Linked DNA regions of Homo sapiens: regions 2, 3, 4 and 5 are each linked to region 1. The links are contacts of gene promoters, found by promoter capture Hi-C in blood cells and fetal thymus (Javierre and others, 2016). All regions are on one chromosome and are shown on one strand. The core of a region is centred on a gene start or on the middle of the fragment in contact, and the rest is flanking DNA. Distances in the headings are between cores, read along the strand shown.

What was found. Contacts are between HindIII fragments. The CHiCAGO score rates a contact against its expected background, and 5 or more counts as called.
Region 2: a fragment that was not itself captured here is called in contact with the fragment with the promoter of TMEM35B in region 1 in 1 of 17 cell types (megakaryocytes); the score reaches 5.0 in megakaryocytes.
Region 3: a fragment that was not itself captured here is called in contact with the fragment with the promoter of TMEM35B in region 1 in 3 of 17 cell types (naive CD8 T cells, megakaryocytes and naive CD4 T cells); the score reaches 5.7 in naive CD8 T cells.
Region 4: a contact is called between a fragment that was not itself captured here and the fragment with the promoter of TMEM35B in region 1, in 2 of 17 cell types (fetal thymus and naive CD8 T cells). The highest score is 5.9, in fetal thymus.
Region 5: the fragment with the promoter of ZMYM4-AS1 here is called in contact with the fragment with the promoter of TMEM35B in region 1 in 1 of 17 cell types (megakaryocytes); the score reaches 5.4 in megakaryocytes.

Annotation. Positions count from the first base shown.
Region 1 is chr1:34,983,903-34,986,602 of GRCh38, reverse strand. TMEM35B (transmembrane protein 35B) reads left to right here and starts at 1,256. Exons shown (of 3, transcript NM_001195156.2): 1 at 1,256-1,405; 2 at 2,656-2,700. The coding sequence starts at 1,298. It overlaps ZMYM6 (zinc finger MYM-type containing 6), which reads left to right. Exons shown (of 16, transcript NM_007167.4): 16 at 1-438. RefSeq lists silencers at 1,278-1,567, 1,628-1,697. The HindIII fragment of the contact is 1,524 bases long and covers 476-1,999 here.
Region 2 is chr1:35,320,660-35,323,359 of GRCh38, reverse strand. All of the region lies in intron 1 of ZMYM4 (zinc finger MYM-type containing 4), which reads right to left. Among named protein-coding and RNA genes, the nearest start is that of ZMYM4-AS1, 44 kb to the left of the region's middle. The HindIII fragment of the contact is 525 bases long and covers 1,045-1,569 here.
Region 3 is chr1:35,302,620-35,305,428 of GRCh38, reverse strand. All of the region lies in intron 1 of ZMYM4 (zinc finger MYM-type containing 4), which reads right to left. Among named protein-coding and RNA genes, the nearest start is that of ZMYM4, 35 kb to the right of the region's middle. The HindIII fragment of the contact is 6,308 bases long and covers 1-2,809 here.
Region 4 is chr1:35,284,384-35,287,083 of GRCh38, reverse strand. The region is part of intron 1 of ZMYM4 (zinc finger MYM-type containing 4); the gene reads right to left. Among named protein-coding and RNA genes, the nearest start is that of ZMYM4, 17 kb to the right of the region's middle. The HindIII fragment of the contact is 1,700 bases long and covers 576-2,275 here.
Region 5 is chr1:35,364,816-35,367,678 of GRCh38, reverse strand. ZMYM4-AS1 (ZMYM4 antisense RNA 1) reads left to right here and starts at 1,602. Exons shown (of 2, transcript NR_046659.1): 1 at 1,602-1,713. All of the region lies in intron 5 of ZMYM4 (zinc finger MYM-type containing 4), which reads right to left. The HindIII fragment of the contact is 9,120 bases long and covers 1-1,927 here.

The sequences.
Region 1 (2,700 bases), core at 7-2,506:
AAGTAGCTGGGGTTACAGGCATGTGCCACCATGCCCGTCTATTGTATTTTTTTTAGTAGAGACGGGGTTTCACCATATTGGTCAGGCTGGTCTCTATCTCCTGACCTCAAGTGATCCACCTGCCTCGGCCTCCCAAAGTGCTGGGATTACAAGTGTGAGCCAACGTGCCCAGCTGGAAAAAGATAGATCTAAGCAGCTTGGGTAACTATAAATGGAAGCAGCAGGGGGATTTGAGACCCCTGCTTGGGGCCTTTCTGGCCCAATATACCAGGGCTTAGCAAACTTTTTAAATAAAGAGCCAGATAGTAAATATTTTCAGCTTTGCAGGCCATACTGTCACAACTACTCAATTCTGCAGTTGCAGTGCAAAAGCAGCCATAGACAATATGCAGATAAGTGTGGCTGTTTTTAAATAAAACTTATTCATGAACACTGAAATATGAATTTCATATAATTTTCCTATGTCACACAAGCTTCTTTAAAAAATGTTTTTATCATAAAAAATGTAAACAAACATTATTAGCTTGGGGGAAGGGGAGAAGCATGGAAAAAAATCAGACATCTGGCCAAATTTGGCCCATGGTTTGCCCATCCCAGCTTTAGACAGATTTCCAGGTAAGAGCAAATGGGCCAGGAGTGGACTGTAGGGCTTGGTTCAGTGAAAGCCTCTCTATCCATGCAAGTATCTGAATTTTCAAACACCTTTCACATTTCATTGTCAGCCGAGATAAATTAGAGGGAAAAGATATCTCAGGCAAAGAGACTTATTTAATAATTAATGGTTATTGATTTATTACAATTTTATAAATTAATTTACTAATTTACAAATAACTTTCTGAGCTCTTACATGTGCAGGCACTGTGCTAGGCCTGTTACAAACTCTGGAGAACTGAGTTATCCCCATATACAGATGCAGATACTGAGGCCCTTTGGGGTGGGTGACAGCTCAGATCCCACAGCTAGTGTGGCACAGGCAGGAACGAAGCCCGGGGTCTTTTGATGGTAGCTGAACCGCACCCAGACACCCACCCGTGTCTGCCAGCACTCCGTATTGGCTGGGAAACACTCCCTGAATCCAAAGGTGCCTGTTTAGTCAGTTACCAGCCAGTGGTCCTCAAGTGTCCCCACCTGTAAGATGGGGGCGCCCTGCCCCAGTACTGCAGCCTCGCGACCCCCTGGAGGGTGGGGGACGGTAGCTCAGGCGAGAGTCTTCCGGCTGCCCCGGGGAGGGAGGAAATGAGCCGGCGGCAGGGGCGGGTTTTCGGCGGGGCCAACCCACGGTGGGGGGAGCGCGGCCATGGCGCTCCTGCTTTCGGTGCTGCGTGTACTGCTGGGCGGCTTCTTCGCGCTCGTGGGGTTGGCCAAGCTCTCGGAGGAGATCTCGGCTCCAGTTTCGGAGCGGATGGTGAGCGGCGCGGGCGGGCGGCAGGGGATCGGGCCCGCGGCGGCGTGTGCTCCGCCCTGCCGCTCCTCGCCCCCGGCCCGGCAGGCCGCCTTCGGGCTTCCGAGGCTCAGCTGGAGCTGGGGGAAAGCGCCTGGCTTTCGACTGAGGCGCAGGTCCTGCCTGGGGAGTTCCTCGAGTTCTCTGGATCTTCCCTAGACGGAAGGGGACAGAACCTCCCCTTCCTGCAGAATATTGGTGGCCCCAGGCAAATCTAGAGCCTTAGGAGGTCCCTCCCACCCCCCCGGACCCTGGGGGAGGATGATGCGGTGGGAAAATGAGCTCACTTCCCGCTCTCTTCCCTCTTTTCGCCGTTTGCTTCAGTTTTTGGGAGGTTCGTGGGGTTGGGGTGTAGTAATCCTGGCTTTGCAGGGAAGGAAGCCCGCCCTGAAGGGCAAGTATATCTGCTAAAGATTGCACATCTAGTCAGGAAGCAGGACACAAGCTAGACACTCCTAACTCGGAACCCAGAGAGGGAAGCCTCTCTCGGAAGCCTGAGAGGGATGCCCTGAAGTCGTCTTTCAGCCTTCTGTCTAGTTCCAGACTCATGGGAAAGCTTTCATATCCTGTTCACCAATCTCCCCAGTCCCTCAAAAGAGCCAGACTTGTAGACCTCTGCTGGCATCTCTCTCCAAGGCCTGGATAAATCCCCAGAGACAGACAGCTTAGAGCTGCTTCCCAGCAGAGCTGAGGAGGGGAGGTAGAGCTGAGGAGTGGGAACAGGAAAAAGTATCCCCGAAAGTAAGGATGAAGTTGTCATTTGGCTCAGGGGAGGGCCTGCCTTGACAAGAAGAGTCACTTTGAGCCCACCTAACTCTGCCTCACCTCCAAATATTCCCTGTACAGCAGCCTTAAGAGAAACCAGGCCAGACACAAAGAAGGAAACTGTGGAATTCCCCAGGCCTTGGCACTAGGGAGCCAAGCCCAGCCCCCTCCTCCTGGGATTTGGGGCTGGGTTGTAATCTCTTGAGAGGTCTAGTGAGAAGATCAATCTCTGTACCACTTGGAGCATGGAGCCTGTTTCCTGATTCCAAAGCTCAGCGCCACAGGGCAGCCCTCTCCTCTTCAGGCTGACCTCAGCCCTGGACCTGACCTAGAGTAGTAGTTCTTTTCTCTGGGAAGTTGAGGGCACAGGCATAGATATGCCATGGAGCATCTGGGGAGCTCATCCTTGTTGAACAATGAGGCTAACAGGCATTCCTTGCCACCCCTAGAATGCCCTGTTCGTGCAGTTTGCTGAGGTGTTCCCGCTGAAGGTA
Region 2 (2,700 bases), core at 58-2,557, 340 kb before region 1:
GAGCTACTGCTCATTTTTCTCTTCCCCTTGACAGCAGAACTCTTCAAAGGAGTTGTCCAGCCGGGTGCAGTGGCTCACGCCTGTAATCCCAGCACTCTGGGAGGCCAAGGTGGGCAGATCACCTGAAGTCAGGAGTTCAAGACCAGCCTGGCCAACATGGCAAAAACCCATCCCTACTGAAAATACAAAAATTAGCTGGGCGTGGTGGCGGGCACCTGTAATCCCAGCTACTTGGGAGGCTGCGAGGCAGGAGAATCACTTGAACTCAGGAGGTGGAGGTTGCAGTGAGCCGAGATTGTGCCACTGCACTCCAGCCTAGGGGACAAAGCATGATTCCGTCTCAAAAACAAAAACAAAAACAAAACAAAAAAGCCAGGCGTGGTGACTCACGCCTGTAATCCTAGCACTTTGGGAGGCCGAGGCAGGTGGATCACAAGGTCAGGAGTTCAAGACCAGCCTGGCCAACATGGTGAAACCCCATCTCTATTAAAGATACAAAAAAATTAGCCGGGCATGGTGGCACACACCTGTAATCCCAGCTACTTGGGAGGCTGAGGCAGGAGAATCGCTTGAACCTGGGAAGCGGAGGTTACAGTGAGCCGAGATCACGCCATTGCACTCCAGCCTGGGCAACAGGGCAAGACTACATCTAAAAACCAAAACCAAAACAAAAAAAAAGTTGTCTATACATGCTGCCTACGACACCTGTCTCTTGAACCCACTTCAGTAAGGCTTCTGCCTGCACTATTTCTACTGAAACTTTTCTCGTCAAGGTCATAAGCGACCTCCACACTGCTAAACCCAATGATCTATTCTCACTCCTAAAGGAAAAAAGAGAACTAGAAGATGACAACCATTTAAGGTGAAAAAATTTGGATCACAATCACTACTTCACATCAACATTAATCCCAGATAAGTTAAAAATAAACTGAAAAAAAAATAAAAGCCCTAGAAGATAGAAAAGTCTTTTAACCAGAAAAAGAGATCTTCATGAAAAAGATTTTAAAGTTTGACTATATTTCTAAAAAATTGTTTGGAAAAGCTTAAAGGTAATATGAATGAAAAAGTTGTAGTAGTAGTATAATAATGGTTAATATTCTATGTATAAAGCAATCTTGGACTCAATTAAAGAGTACTATCCCAATAGAAAGTGATCAAAGAACATAAACAAGCACTAAACATTCAATCTTACCCAAAATCAAAATTGAGATACCATTTTCTCTCAGACTGGTAAAGATACAAAATGAAGAGAGACATAGAAATGTCCCTGTTTTTAAAAAACCCAATAGTATATCTTGGAAAATTATACAGAGATCTACTTCATTCTTTCCAGTGGCTGCACAGTCTCTTATTATATTATACTGATGAACATTTTAAGGTTGCCTCCTGCTTTTTTTTTTTTAAATGCAATATTGCAGTTGTCATCTGTATACATATGATATGGCTTAGGTATGTGAGTATATCTGTAGGATCAATTTCTAGAAGTGGGATCACTAGGTTAAAAAAGATCACTAGGTTAAAAAAATTAAATATTTAATTTTTTAAAATTTAATTCCTTCCAACTAAGCTTCATGAGTTACTGGGATTATAGGAACACACCACCATGCCCAGTTTATGACACTTTTTTTCCAAGTACTTTATATGATTTAATCCAATTTAATCTCCCAAAAATCTCATAAGGTAGGTACTGTTAACACCTCTATTTTATAGGTGAAGAAATGGAGGTACTGAGAGGTTAAGGGGAAGGACACACACACACACACACACACAGCTCTGAAAGTCTCCCAAGAAAAATGTCCAAACTTCTGTGGATATATAAGACTCTCCAAAATCTAGCCCTAATTTCCTCTACAGCTTTATCTTTTCCTGCCTTCACATTCCCATTACATCCCCATCCTGTAAGCAAATGCTCCAGCCATGATAAATAACCTATAGCTGCTCACCCAACCTTTCAGGTAGTTTCAAGCATCTGGGTCACTGTGCACAGTGCTTAAGCTTTTCCAGTCTTAATTCAATAGTAAACATATACTCAGCTTCAAGCTAAAGCTGCTACTCCTCTATGGTACCATAATCTCACACACAACCCACACACACCCAACTTCCCGAACAAAGTAGAATTCACAGCTCTTTCCTAGTGATACTACGACCAATGTGACTGTGTAACAACTATAATAACTTTACTCCCAAGTTGGGAATGCTATAAAGAATCAAGTACCCATACAGGTTTCTGAAGCTGTATGAGGTCATATCCCATTCTTTTTGTAGACCAACCTGCTGACAGATAACAGGGGTTATACAAACCTTGAGTTTTAATCCAACTTTGGAGACTAAACACAAAATCAATAAAAAGGAGCGCTTTATATAAAGACCTTTAGAATAATGTTAAAAATTAAAAACAAAAAACAATCTAGTTAGTTTCTTTCAATAGAACCTAAATGAAATCAAGATTCTATAAAGGATTAGAAATCCTACACTTCTCAAAGCCAGGGCAGGCAAAAGTGCACCCTGAAGAAAAAAACAAACAAAAGATTATTTTTCTGCTATAACAGTCTCGCAACACAGAACATTTCAGTGACCAGATATGTGGGACTTTTTCATCACACACCAAATATCTAGCAGACACCAACTGTGTGTCCTATAATTCACTTCAATTCTGACACTATCTACCTAGAATTAAGAGTAAGATCCCACAGGTTGAAG
Region 3 (2,809 bases), core at 6-2,505, 320 kb before region 1:
AAAAGAATAGAGTCACTAAATATGATCATCAACAAGACATAACTCTATATGTGAAGCAACTAACAATACAACTTCAAAATACATGAAGCAAAAAACAGAACTAAAGAGATAAGTAAAATCTCCAACTGTGGCTGCAGATTTATAGTTCTGTCAGTTAGAACAAGACAAAAAAACAAGTAAGACACAGAAGATTTTTACAGCCCTACCAACCAACTTGACCCAAGTGGTATTTATAGAAACACTACACCTAATAACTTGGTATGCACTTTTTAAAGTTTACTTGTGGGCTGGGCGCAGTCGCTCACGCCTGTAATCCCAGCACTTTGGGAGGCCAAGGCGGATGGATCACGAGGTCAGGAAATCAACACCATCCTGGCCAACATGGTGAAACCCCATCTCTACTAAAAATACAAAAATTAGCTGGTCGTAGTAGCGCATGCCTGTAATACCACCTACTTAGGAGGCTGAGGCAGGAGAATCGCTTGAACCAGGCAGTCAGAAGTTGCAGTGAGCTGAGATTGCGCCACAGCACTCCAGCCTGGGGACAGAGCAAGACTCTGTCTAAAAAATAATAAAAAATAAAGTTTACTTGTGGAGGCACCAAGATACACTATATGCTGGACCATAAAAAAAGAGCATCGATAGAAATCAAATAATTGAGGCTGGGAGTGGTGGCTCACACGTGTAATCCTATCACTTTGGAAGGCCAAGGTGGGAAGATTGCTTGAGGCCAGAAGCTGGAGACCAGCCTGGGAAACATGGTGAAACCCCATATCTAAAAAAAAAAAAATACAAAAAAAAAATTAGCCAGGCATTGTGGCACACGCTATAGTCACAGGTACTCTTAAGAGGCTGAGGTGGGAGGATGATTTGAGCCCAGGAGGCAGAGGTTGCAGTAAGCTAAGATCGAGCCATTGCACCCCAGCCTGGATGACAGAGCCAGATCCCGTCTCAAAGAAAAAAAAAAAGAAAAAAAAATCAAATAACTGAAATAATAGAAAATACATTCTCTGACCTCAGTGGTATTAAATTTGAAATCACTATAAAACAAGATAATTACAATATCAAAAATTAGAAATTAAGCATACTTCTAAAGAAACTGTATGGCCGGGCGCGGTGGCTCACGCCTGTACTCCCAGCACTTTGGGAGACCAAGGCGGGCAGATCACTAGGTCAGGAGTTCGAGACCAGCCTGGCCAACATAGTGAAACCCCATCTCTACTAAAAATACAAAAAATTAGCCGAGTGTGCTGGTATGCACCGGTAATCCCAGCTACTCAGGAAGCTGAGGCAGGAGAATCGCATGAATGTGGGAGGCGGAGGTTGCAGTGAGCCAAGATCATGGCATTGCACTCCAGCCCAGGCGACAGCGCGAAACTCCGTTTCAAAAAAAAAAAAGAAACTGTATGGTAATGTAAGTAGAAAAATAAATCAGAGAAAACTCAGTAAATATTTTGAACTGAATGATATATAAACACAACTTACTAAGAGTTTGGGGATGCACTTAAAGCAGGGCTTAGAAATGTCTATAGCTTTAAACCATAAGTTATTGATATAACTTAAAGAAGGATGCCAAATCAAGAAGCTAGGAAAAGAAAGCAAAGTAAACCCAAAATAAGTGGAAAGAAGGAAATAATAAAGATAAAAGCAAACATCAATCAAATAATGATAAAAGCAAAAATAAATTAAATAGAAAATAAAGAACAGCATAAAAATCAGTGAAACCAAAAATGAGTTCTATCAAAAGATCAATATAGGCTGGGCGCTGTGGCTCATGCATGTATCACTTGAGGTCAGGAGTTTGAGACCAGCCTGGCCAACATGGCAAAGCCCTGTCTCTACTAAAAATCCAAACATTAGATCGGTGTGATGGTGCGTGCCTATAGTCGCAGCCACTTGGGAGGGTGAGGCAGGAGAATCGCTTGAACCCAGACGGCGGAGGTTGCAGTGAGCCGATATTGTGCCACTGTACTCCAGCCTGGGTGACTCCGTCTCAAAAACAAACAAACAAACAAACAAAAAACACAAATTGCCAATATCAGGAATGAAAGAGAGATCACCACTACAAATCTACAGACATTACAAGGAATATAAAGAAATACTATAAGCAATTTTTTTTCTTTTCTTTTTTTTTTTTTTTTGAGACAAGGTATCCCTCTGTCACCAGGCTGGAGTGCAGTGGTACCATGACAGCTCATTGCAGCCTCGACCTCCCAAGTTCAACTGATCCTCCCACCTCAGCCTCCAGAGTAGCTGGCACTACAGGCAATCACCACACCTAACTAATTTCTGGATTTTTTGCAAAGACAAGGTTTTTTTGTTTTTTTTTTTTTGCCAGGTTTCCCAGGTTGGACTCGAACTCCTAGACTCAAGTGATCCTCCCACCTCAACCTCTGGTGGAGCTAGGAATATAGGCGTGGTCACTATGCCCTGGATAATTTTTTTTTTTTTTTGGAGACAGTGTTTCCCTGTATTGCTCAGGCTGGTCTCAAACTCCTGGCCTCAAGCAATCCTCCCACCTCCAGCCTCCAGAGTAGCTGAGATTGCAGGCATGAGCCACCACATCAGGCTCTCTTTTTAAAAACAGCTCTTTAAAATGCAAAAGCCAGACTGGGTGCAGTAGCTCACACCTGTAATCCCAGCACTTTAGGAGGTCAAGGCTGGAGGATCACATAAGCCCAGAAGTTTGAGACCAACTTAGCAACATAGTAAGATCCCATCTCTACAAAAAAATAGTCAAATTAGGCTGGGCGCTGTGGCTCACACCTGTAATCCCAGCATTTTGGAAGGCCGAGGAGGGCGGATCATG
Region 4 (2,700 bases), core at 176-2,675, 300 kb before region 1:
CGAGGAAGGAAGGGCAACAGAAATAAGAAAGGTCAAATAAAGATCTAAGAAAAGTCAAATAAAATAATCTCTGAAAAGCATCCATTAGATTTGGTGATTATTAGATCATTTCAGTGTTCCTAAAGAGAAGAATTTCAGTGCCAAAACAGAAAGATAAGCTAGGGCCAGGCAGGGTGGTTCACACCTATAATCTTTGGGAGGCAGAGGTGGAGGACTGCTTGAGCCCAGGAGTTCAAGACCAGCCTGGACAACATATGGAGACCCTGTCTCTACAAAAAAAAAAAAAAAAAAAAAAAAAAAAAAAAAAAAAATTATTTAAATAGCCAGGCACAAGGGTATTGTCTGTGGTCCTAGCTGCTCAGGTGGGTGAGGTGGGAGGATTGCTTGAGCCCAGGAGGTCAAGCCTTCAGTGAGCCGTGATCATGCCACTGCATTCCAACCTGGGCAACAGAGTACGATCCTGTCTCTTAAAAAAAAAAAAAAAAAAAATAGGCAGACAGAGGCAGGCAGGCTCAGGAGTGAATGGGAAATAAGCAACTTACACCATCTCATAAAGATTCTAACTTCAAAAAGCTTGTCTGAGTTCAGGCTGTGGTCTCCAGATAACATCTTCCACTGAAAGGTACTGAGGCGTCTTGCAAAACAAGTTAATTCCAGGTCTGAAGTAGCGTATGTATAGATGAGCCTGGTTCTATTTTTTTGGCGGACGGGGAGGAATCTTTCAAGGACTATTGGAGTTAAGTCAAAGGGATACAGGTGTTTCAGTATTTTTTTTTTCTTCTTGACTCTAATGTAAATGAAATTGTTTTCTTAAAATTTCCTTTTGGGATTGTTCTAGTGTACATAAATACAACTGATTTTTGTGTGTTGATGCCATATCCTGCAACTTTGCTGAATTTCTTACTAACTTGCACAGTTTTGTTTTTGGCATAACTTTAAGGGTATTCTACGTATAAGATCATGTCACCTTTAAATAGAGATAGTTTTACTTCTTCCTGTCCAATTTGAATGCTTTTTATTTCCTTTTTCTTGCTTAACTTCTGGCTAGAACTTCTAATACTACACTGAATAGACATGGTGAAAGAAGGCATCCTCATCTTGTTCCTCATCTGAGGATAAAATCTCTCAGTCTTTCACCACTGAATATGATGTAAGCAATGATTTTTCATGGGTAGCCTTTATCATGTTGAGGAAATTCCCCTCTTTTCCTAGTTTATTAAAGTGCTTTTACAAAGGAAAGGATGTTAGCTTTTCTTTAATACTTTCTCTGCATCAACTGAGATGATTTAGTCATTCCTCAGTATCTGTGGGGGACTGGACCCTGGACCCCCCAAAGATACCAAAATCCTTGAATGCTCAAGTCCCTTATATATAGTATTTGCATATAACCTACACACATCCTCCTATACAATTTAAATCATCTCTAGATTACTTATAACACCTAATACAATGCAAATACTATGCAAACAGTTGTTATACTCTATTTTTAAATGTTGTATTTTTTTTCCTCTGGTCCTTGATTAAGGAATAAATTTGTATTACCTTTTATTTTTTTTTCCAAATATTTTTGATCTGCAGATGTGGAACTCATAGATACAAAGGACAGACTGTAGTGAGTTCTTTTTTTTCTTCATTCTACTAATGTGGTAGATTATACTGATTGATACTTGAGAAAAATTTAACCAAGGAAGCACAAGACTTGTACACTAAAAGACCTGTACAAAACATTGCTGAAAGAAATAAAAGAAGACCAAAATAAATGGAAAGACATTCCATGTTCACAGACTGGAAGACTTAACATTGTTAAGATGACAGTAACTACCCTTGATTTACAAATTCAATTTTGATCCCTGTCAAAATCCTAATAACTCTTTTTTCAGAAATAGGAAAAAACCATCCTAAATTTCACGTGAAATTTCAACACACCCCAAATAGCCAAAACAATCTTGAAAAAAAAAACTTGAGGACTCCTACTTCCTAATTTCAAACCTACTACAAAGCTACAGTAATCAAAACAGTGTAGTACTGACACAAGAACAGGCATATAGACAAATAGAACAGAACTGAAAGTCTAGAAATAAACTCTCGCATTTGTCGTTGTTATGGTCTGAATGTTTGTATCCCTCCTCCCCAGATTCATATGTTGAAGCCTTAACCCCCCATGTAATAATACTTGGAGAGGGGGACTTTAAAAGGTAATCAGCTAGATGAGGTAGTGAGAGTGGAGCTCTCATGATGTGATTAATGCCCTTCTAAGAAGAAACACCAGAAAGCTTACACTCTCTCTCACCTCACAAACACTAAGAAATCACATGAGCACAGAGCAAGGTAGTGGCTACCTACAAGCCAAGAGAAAAGGCCTGAAAATAAAACCTACCTGTGGGCACTTTGATCTTGGACTTCCCAGCCTCCTGAAATGTAAGAAATAAATTTGTTGTTTAAGCCACCCAGACTATGATACTGTGTTACGACAGCCCAAACTGATACGATGGTCAACTGACTTTCAACAAGGTTTCCAGGACCACTCAATGGGGAAAGAACAGGCTCTTCAACAAAAGGTGCTATGAAACCTGGATATTCATACACAAAAGATTGAAACTGGACACTTACTTTGTACCATAAACAAAAATTAACTCAAGATGGATTAAAGACCTAAATTAAAGACCTAAACACTAAAACTCTTAGAAGAAAACATAGGGA
Region 5 (2,863 bases), core at 353-2,852, 380 kb before region 1:
ATAGTGAATTCCTTTCATTTGCCATTGATAAATATATCAAATTCTTAAAAAATAATGTCTGTTTTTGGGCTATCTCTTCTATATCATTTTCAGTCTGACTAATCTTATGATATCATGCTATCCTAACGAAACTAATTGTAGGATACTTATGGCCAGACGTGGTGGCTCACACCTGTAATCCAATCACCTTGGGAGGCCGAGGTGGGTGGATCACCTGAGGTTAGGAGTCTGAGACCAGCCTGGCCAACATGGTGAAACCCTGTCTCTACTAAAATTACAGAAATCAGCGGGGTGTGGTGGTGCACGCCTGTAATCCCAGCTACTCAGGAGGCTGAGGCAGGAGAATCGCTTGAACCCAGGGTGGTGGGAGGGCAGAGGTTGCAGCGAGCCAATATTGCACCATTGCACTCCAGCCTGAGCAACAAGAGTGAAACTCTGTCTTTTAAAAAAAAAAAAAATTAATTAATTGTATGATGTTCAACCATTTAACAGCATTTGCCACATTCAACCTCTCCATCCATTTTTTAGAATATATGTGTAATAAGTGTGTGTATGTGCATGCCTATTATTCTTCTACAAAACTTCATAACCTAACCATTGATATTTTCATCAGAATTGCATCAAATCTAAATCTCAATTTTTTTTTTTTTTTTTGAGATGGAGTTTCACTCTTATCCCACAAGCTGGGGCACGATGGTGCGATCTTGGCTCACTGCAACCTCCACCTCCCAGGCTCGAGTGATCCTCCTGTCTCAGTCTCCCGAGTAGCTGTGATTACAGGCATGCACCACCACGCCCGGCTAATTTCTGTAATTTTTGTATTTTTTAGTAGAGACAGGGTTTCACCATGTTGGCCAGGCTGGTCTTGAACTCCTGACCTCAAGTGATTCGCCCCCCGCTTGGCCTCCCAAAGTGTTAGGATTACAGGCGTGAGCCACCGCACCTGGCCTTAAATCTTAATTTAAAAATAACTGACATCTACATATTTCTTACATTTAAAAAGATGGTCTCTTCATTATTTCAAGTTGTATTTGATATAAGTACTTTTTAGTTGCTGCTGGGAATAGTGTATCTTTTTCATTATATCATCTAACTGGGAAGTTTATTTATAGAAGTATTGGTATAATTCAACTAGGTACTCCACTAAATTTTCATGAATTCTATTAATTCTTTCATAAATATTCTTAATAGCAAGTGATAATTTTATTTCCCTTTTTCCATTATTTTTTCTTCTAATTTCTTTAACATGGATTGAAGTAAAAATCCAACAAGAGTTAAATAATAACGATGACATCCGCAACTTGTATTCTTTTAGTAATATTAACAGAAGATTTCCATCATTTTACTTCAACTTCAATAACTGTTACTGATCTGAAGTAGTAGTTCCTTACTATGATCAAGAAAAAATCTATTCTAAGAAATGTCTGAATTACATGAGATGTCTTTTGGCATCTAATAAAGTGACTATTACAGATACCCTTATTTGACCTGCTGATGAAATATATGTATTAAAAGATTTTCTAACATCGACTAATCATGACATTCCTTCATTATATAGTGTATTAAAGAAAATTTCCTTAAATATTTTTATTTTAATCTCAGAAAACTCCAGAAACAACCAATACTCATTGGCATACATTAACGGTCTGCAGTCAGCTCTCTTAGTCTCTGTGATGGCTATTGCAAACTTCTGCTGGATTCCTTTAGCCTTGAGTACGTATTATTTATGTAATATAGTAAAATAGTATACATCTTAAGTACTGTTTGTATGGTCCACAATGCCTTCAAGGCACAATCATGTTTGGTTTATGTTTGGATCCTCCCATGATCACTAATTTTACAAGTATTTGATAAACAAATCAATGAGTAGCCAAATACTAATAAATATTTTCTGAGAAGTAAATATCTAATTGGTAACCCAAAAGCTTTCAGAAGCAGAAAAACACATGCCAAAACACAAAAAAATTCCTTTACCAATACCTTTACCTTCTTAGTTTACTACAAATGAAGATCAATATTAATATCCCATGAAAGTATTTTAGAAATGAATAACACAGTTTCTATTGCCAAATTAACTCAATATGGCTAAAAGAGCCCCAACATTTGAATTACTACATTTTCTTTCCAAAACTGTGTGAATGACTATTATGACAATTAGTTCATTTGCTTTCCCATTTTAATTGAGTTCTTTCAATGAGAGACTACACATTAGCTCGTCCTCTATTATTATGAACAAGAAGAAAAAGAAATCATGACTTTAATGTAGTATTTACTGAATGTACAGTTTTTAGACCCTATGGAAAAGGCAAAAGAGGAAAATGAGGTCTCTGGCTCTCTTTAAAGTATCTATTTTGAAACCTTCCCTTGGTATTTTTAAAATTAAACAACTTTTATTTACAGAAAGATTGGTAGACTAAAAAAAAAAAAAAAAAAAAAAAAGACTTTGATTATGACCCCAGATTGGCTCCTTCCTGGCCATGAGGGCTTGAGTAACTAAATCTCTATATCTCTCAGCTCTCTCACCTATAAATGTTAACATCCTCTACTCTGGCCATCTTATACAGGGTTGTTAGGCGAATTAAGCAACACAGTACGTGTAAAAGCATCTGTAACTGTAAAAATACTACAGAAAACATTATAGAAACATGCAATAGAATTAGAATGAAGAAATGAAACTGTGAGACCCAATGACATTATGCCAGTAATAGAGGCAGGAGGACGGACAATGACTGGCAAATCCAGAATATCATAACTGAAGAAATAACCAAGAGCAAATGGGTAGAGGAAGTTAAATACATACACACACATTTCAGCACCTTGTTTATATAGTAAAGTAAAGAAATTAGGACCAAAATGAATTGTG